Linked DNA regions of Homo sapiens: region 2 is linked to region 1. Evidence: promoter capture Hi-C in human tissues and cell types (Jung and others, 2019). All regions are on one chromosome and are shown on one strand. Each heading gives the region's core, a stretch centred on a gene start or on the middle of the fragment in contact. The rest is flanking DNA. Distances are from core to core; before and after follow the strand shown. Region 1 holds the start of SKOR2 (SKI family transcriptional corepressor 2). Region 2 holds the start of MIR4527 (microRNA 4527).

Evidence for each region. Contacts are between HindIII fragments. The study calls those that stand out against the background at their distance.
Region 2: a contact is called between a fragment that was not itself captured here and the fragment with the promoter of SKOR2 in region 1, in 3 of the 25 tissues and cell types used here (liver, spleen and thymus).

What each region holds. Positions count from the first base shown.
Region 1 is chr18:47,250,220-47,253,158 of GRCh38, forward strand. SKOR2 (SKI family transcriptional corepressor 2) reads right to left here and starts at 1,441. Exons shown (of 9, transcript NM_001278063.4): 1 at 1,155-1,441. RefSeq lists an enhancer at 1,309-1,825. The HindIII fragment of the contact is 10,120 bases long and covers 1-2,939 here.
Region 2 is chr18:47,377,760-47,380,698 of GRCh38, forward strand. The region is part of intron 1 of MIR4527HG (MIR4527 host gene); the gene reads left to right. It overlaps MIR4527 (microRNA 4527), which reads left to right and starts at 2,737; the gene lies at 2,737-2,806. The HindIII fragment of the contact is 4,464 bases long and covers 1-2,939 here.

The DNA.
Region 1 (2,939 bases), core at 191-2,690:
CCACCATACAGCCAATCGGTGGACTAGGTAATCTATGGGAGTGTTGAAAGTCGAAATCCCAGGTTGGGTCTGTGGTAAAATTTCTAACTTCACCTCCAGTCAACAGAATGCCACAATGAGGGAAAATATTCAGTAAGTTGAAAATACAGAACAAGGAAGCGGAAAGAAATTTTAGTGACAATGCCACTAAGTGGAAAGAAGGAAAGTGGCTCACTCCCTAGGAAAACAAACACTGATCTTTCCACAGCTACATCTCAAGCGCATTGGCCAAGGCATGCTTTGCCCTGAAAAATCACCAGAGGCCATAGCGTGGCCCCTTTCGGCCACGTACAGCGAGTTCGCTATTACAGTGCTTTCAGAGGGTACACGATCTTACTCCCTCACCCAATTTCTTATCCGTGTCCTCTCTCTGGGCCCCTGTGGCATCTATACAGCAGCCTCTGTCCTGCTGCCCCCTGGATCCTCAGTTCTCATTACATTTGGCGGCCTCCAGGAAGCTTGAACAAACCTCGACGCGATCAAAGGAGAGGAAAGCCTGCTTGTCACTTTGGGTGGATCAGAGACAATATTTCCAGGGGACAGGGCGTTACATGGCAGTTCAAGGCGCAGTGACACCCGAGTCTGATACAACCAACACTAGCTTCGTCAGGTGGCCCTTCGATGCTCATTTCCCTACCAAACAAGATTCATATCCGCTTAATAAGACCCTGGGATAATTCCAACTCTCGCTCCCCAGCAAGGCGCGCGGCTGGCCAGCCGGGGCGGGAAGCTGGCTCTGCGTTAAGGACTCGCAGCCTTAGCAGCAGTAGACCAGGCAGAAGTGTCTCCTCACTTTTACCCCAAGCCCTCCCAGAAACTGCCGTCAGAGCAGACACAAGGTTTTGGTTGGGGCATTATTTTTTGGGTGGGTGGGGAGGGGAGAAGAGACAATTAAAAGTTAGTTGAACTGAGAAAGGAACCTGGTGAACTTCCCTATCCTGCCCAACAGCCAAAGACCCCCCCACCCCCAACTTAGTTCTCCCGACTCCCAAACCAGTCACCACGGAAGCCCACCGCTGCCCCTCAACCTAACGCGGAAAATCCTACCGCTGGGGATCTCAAATAGGTGCCCAGCAAGCTGTGTGCCGGATTGGGGCGGCCGGTTCCGGCAATACCTGGTAACCTCTGGGTGTCTTTAGGCGTGTGGCTGCCGGCCCATCTTCCGAGGGCGCTCGGAGGCGAAGCATCCAAGCGGGTCCTCGTATCCAGCGGGCGGGACTCTGGCGGGCTCCGCGCGAAGATCCGGGCTCTGGCCCGAGCGAATGGCGCTCAAACCCCGGCCTGGGGAGAATGACGGCCTGAATTGCGGCGGGGCGTCCCCTCCACCGCAGAAAGTGTGGGTACGCAGAAACCCGCGGCAGGAGAGCCCCAAGTGGAGCGCAGTCTGACAGCGTCTGTCTCTGAACTCGTGTCGGACCGAGGGGACGCCACCCAGCGGGCAGGGTGACGTCACCGTCTCCCTGACACTCCACATTAAAGGGCTGGCATGTTACAGGGAGGGAGGGGGAGAGCGAAAGCCAGCGCGAGCAACAGAGAGATCCTTTCTCAGCAGGCACGAAAGCTACCAACCTAACCAACTCGCAATTGACAACAACCTCCTCAGCCCCGGAGTAAACTGCAGCAATGGTGCTGGAGCCGCAGATCTGATTTAGGAGTGGAAAGCGAACAGTCTGCCTGCATCCCGGGACCTAGATCCTGGAGGCCCCGGATTCTAGAAGGACGCCTCCAAATTAACTATATCCCTGACCGTTATTGTCTCCTCCCCTCATTTCTGAGTCACCCTCCTTCATGAATGATCCCTCTGGTACAGGATGCAAAGCTGCTCTGTGTCTGAAGACAGAATCCACAGTCAGCTGGAGAATAAATTAGCTTCAGTGACTCCTTTGAAACGCTATGAAATGAGAAAAAGGAGAGAAGTTTCCACATAGGGTGCCCAATCAGAAAACTTGGAGTGCCCCGACTTTTGCATATACATTTGCTTTATAGGACAAGATGCAGAGTCACTGCAGCCTTCTCTATTTTATGGAGTGTACAATTAGGTGAGGACCCCAATATGTGCATATGCACATCGATTTATCAAACTTCATTCAGAATCGTCCTCTAACCCATTTTACAAGATCCGTAAGGCTACCTCTACACAAGGAAAGGGTGGGGCAGGGAAGCAGGGAGGTCCCCCACATGGAAGAGTCCTTCAGCAAGTTGCCAATTTTCCTGGAGAAATAAATAAATTTAATCAGGAAAACATGTAGAAGCATGATCTCCTCCCCTAAAATAAAGACTAGGATGAGAAAACATTTCCTCACAGTTTCCCTAAATGAGGCGCACCCTAGTGTATTAATGAAGTGTCAATATAGTGCGTCCCAATTGACCAGCTGTTAAGAGTCAAAACGACCACTGGCTAGTTTATCGGAAAGGAAAGAAACCACTTATTTGGAGTATGTTCTAAGAAGGATGCCGGCTGGGGTGGGGCTGGGAAATCCTTTAAGTTTTTCCTTTACTACCATAGCTGAATTTTCAATTGCTGCCTAGTGAAACAGTCCTAGCATTGTGGAAATGATGGAAAAACATCTACCAAGCTGAAAGCCCACCCAGATTGTGTCATAGCACCAACAACATACCACTCCTAAATACAAGAGCAAAAATGTGAAATCTTAACCTTCATCAAAGGTTAATAAACCCAAGGAAAGTCAATTGAACAGAAACGTGAGGGGCTTGTTGCTCAGGAGTTGTGTCTATTTTAAATTAATATCCTGAAAACACAGTTACAGAGACATGAAAATCGAAACGTTTGGGCATAAGTTTCAACGGGCAATGAAAGAATTTTTCACCCATCTTCTAGTTTCTAAAGACATTCAAGGCACAAATTGGGCTTTATCCTAAGGGGCTGAAATCAACCTAGT
Region 2 (2,939 bases), core at 305-2,804, 130 kb after region 1:
TCCTGCCTGTGTATGGGCTGCCTCCAGGACCCCATGAACACATCTGGTTAGAACTGGCTGACTGAGTTTGGTCCCCGCTGGCCTTGAAATACATGATCCTGTGAATGTGGGCATTGATTTGAGCCCAAGCACCCAGGAGGCAGCTCCTTTAAGTATTAAATGCACTTTCTACTTTGTCAATCCAGCTTTTCAGTCAAAGCTGTCTTTTCCTATCCTCATCGTCCTCCTGTCTTGTGAGCCTTGGCCTGGAGACTGGCTAGGAGTCCTAGAGGGGCCACCTGGGAGGGGGGGACGATGCATCCCCCTACGCCCTGAATCAGGCTTCACTCTACCTAAATCCCACTCTCCACAGGCATTTTAACTAAAACGGATCCTGCCTGCTGTGAGCAAAAGTAGCCTCCCAAATCTATCCAAGAAGTGTGATTGATAGTGCTGCTGAGGCTTGAGACAAAGAAGCCCTCTCTGGTTTTCATATTAATGCTGGGTTATCTCCTACAGTATTGATTTTTTGTTTGGCTTTTGAAATTTCTCTTCTCTGTTTCTGAGCCATTCCTATAAAAATGAAAGAGGAGGTGAGGGATGATGTCGTCCAGGTTGACAAGCTTTGCTGACTTGCAGTATTAGCTGCTGTTTTCCATTAGGTCTCTCCAAGCCTGTCAACTGCCTCTTCTGGGCAGAAATATATTTAAAATGTGGTATGAAAAGGTCCCCATGTGTCAACAGTAAGAGCCTGCCACCAAGTTTAGTCACTGGATTAATCTTCCAATCCTTAGCATTTGGGTCCTCTTCAAGGAAGCAGCAAAGATTTTGATGGACTCCAGCCTGCTGCTCTCAGTCCTCCTCTCCCTCTCCAAAGACAGCTCAACTTCTGCAAAACTATCAAGGGATGAGGCTGGCCTCAGCGGCTCTCAGCCTCCCTTCATCTCCTCTGTTTCCCCTCAGATATGTCCCACTCCTACTTCTCTCCTCCTCACCCATTCCTGCGCTGAGAGCCACCGTCAACACTTGGGTGTGAATGTCTTCTTAGGCTGTAGAGGGGGATCCTCGCCTATGGGATTTTGCCTTTACTAGGACGTCAGGATTAAGGATGTTAAGCTCTAAACAGTGGAGTTTCATACATCCCTCAGTGGAGAAAGGATGTTTTGGAGGAAAAGCAGAAATGCAGCATTCTCTGAAATCTGAATGTTACCCTCCACCTCTGCTTTCCTGGTAGCACCTTCATCAGATTGGAGGGCATATAGGGCCAATGCGGGTGGCATGGCTGCATCTCACATCCTTGGGCCCTTCATTCAGTTAGTCAACAAGTGTTTGAATTGAAGTGAGAACCCATTTGTTTACAATGTTACGCTGGACCTACAACCCTTCTTTGTTAGAGTCTTTATCTCTTTAGCTATTCATTCTGGATTCCAAAAAGAATTATGCAGGCCTAGTCCCAGACACTGTGCTAGTGCCGGGGGTGCAGGGATGGGCAAGAGAGTCAGGCTCTGTCCTTGTGGAGCTGTGAAAGTTGGAAACCTGGGAGTCTCCTTTGCCTCTGCTACCTTTCCACTAGCACATCCAGTTATCTTCTGTCTCCCTGCCACTGGCCTTGACCACTCTCCTCTAAAGCTTCTAGAACAGTGCTTATCACGTACGGTAGACGAACAGTACATGTTGGTCTATCATAGTCCCCACCACACCCCTAAGCCATGATTTACATCCAAGTCTGACCCCTATCTTGCTCAGAAGTCTCCAATGAATCCCCCTTTTCTATGGTGTAAGATGGAAATGGCCTTGAATGGCACATAGGCCATTCAGGATTTGGTCCCTGCCTATCTGTCCAACCTCATCTCCTGCATTAGTCAGGCTTCTCCAGATAAACAGAACCGATAGGATATGCATGTATGTTGAAGCCTTGGGGGCACTCTGCTTTACCCAAAGTTCAACAAGTTAAATGTTAATCTTATCTGAAAACACCTTCCAAGTGAACACGTGAAATTAACCATCACACCCCCTTTGCCCTGTATGTTCTGGCAATATTGCACCTCTTTTTAGCTTCCAAAAATGGTCCACTATCCTGCCTCTGGGCCTTTGCACACACTGTTCCTTTTGCCAGACTTATCTTTCCCCATTCTTGTCCACTCAACAGACACCAATTCTCACACTAATCCAGCCTCAGCTGCAAAGCACTCTCTCTCAGTGACCCCTTGGACCCTCACAGAGAGATTTGGGTGCTCTGTGTTGTTATTCCCATTCTATTTTGCACTTAGTTTTGTCACATCATTTATCATGTTAATGTTGGCTGGCATATCTCCCTTCCCACTGGGAAGACAAGGGCTTATCTTTTTGTTTTTGTCTAAGTCAAGCCTTATGTTGGGTATTGGGGAAAATCTCTTGGGCATTACAACCTTAACCAATGATCTTATTATAATCATCCTACCACCTCATTTTAATTACTTATAAAGTAGAGGATTGAACTGATAGAGCAGTAATCACCAATTGCTTAACTTCATAGTCGTTCTCCCTCTACTTCATGTCATAGAGCTCTTAGCTGAGCCCATGGCCTCCTGGAAGTAAAACTACATTTTCCAGCAGGCTGTGCAGCTGTATGTGGCCATGTGACTGTACATCATGGCTAGTGGGATGTGAATGGGTCCTCAGCACCTTCTGGGAGACTTTCTTTTCTGTCATTTCCTCCAGCCAGCTGCCTGGAATCATAAGCCTACTATCTTGGACCATGAAGATGTGAAGCAGAGGCCAGAAGTGGTCTGCAAAGAGATGACTGTGAATCCAAGATCCACATCAGCTCTGTGCTGCCTACATCTGACTTCTCCGGGAACAAAAAGAACAAACACCACTACTCTGTTTAAGCCACCATGTTTAGAATCTTTGTTGCTTGCAATTGAGCCTAATCATAAGGATATATCTTGAGAAGTGCTTTCCAAATTCTCTGAGGGAAG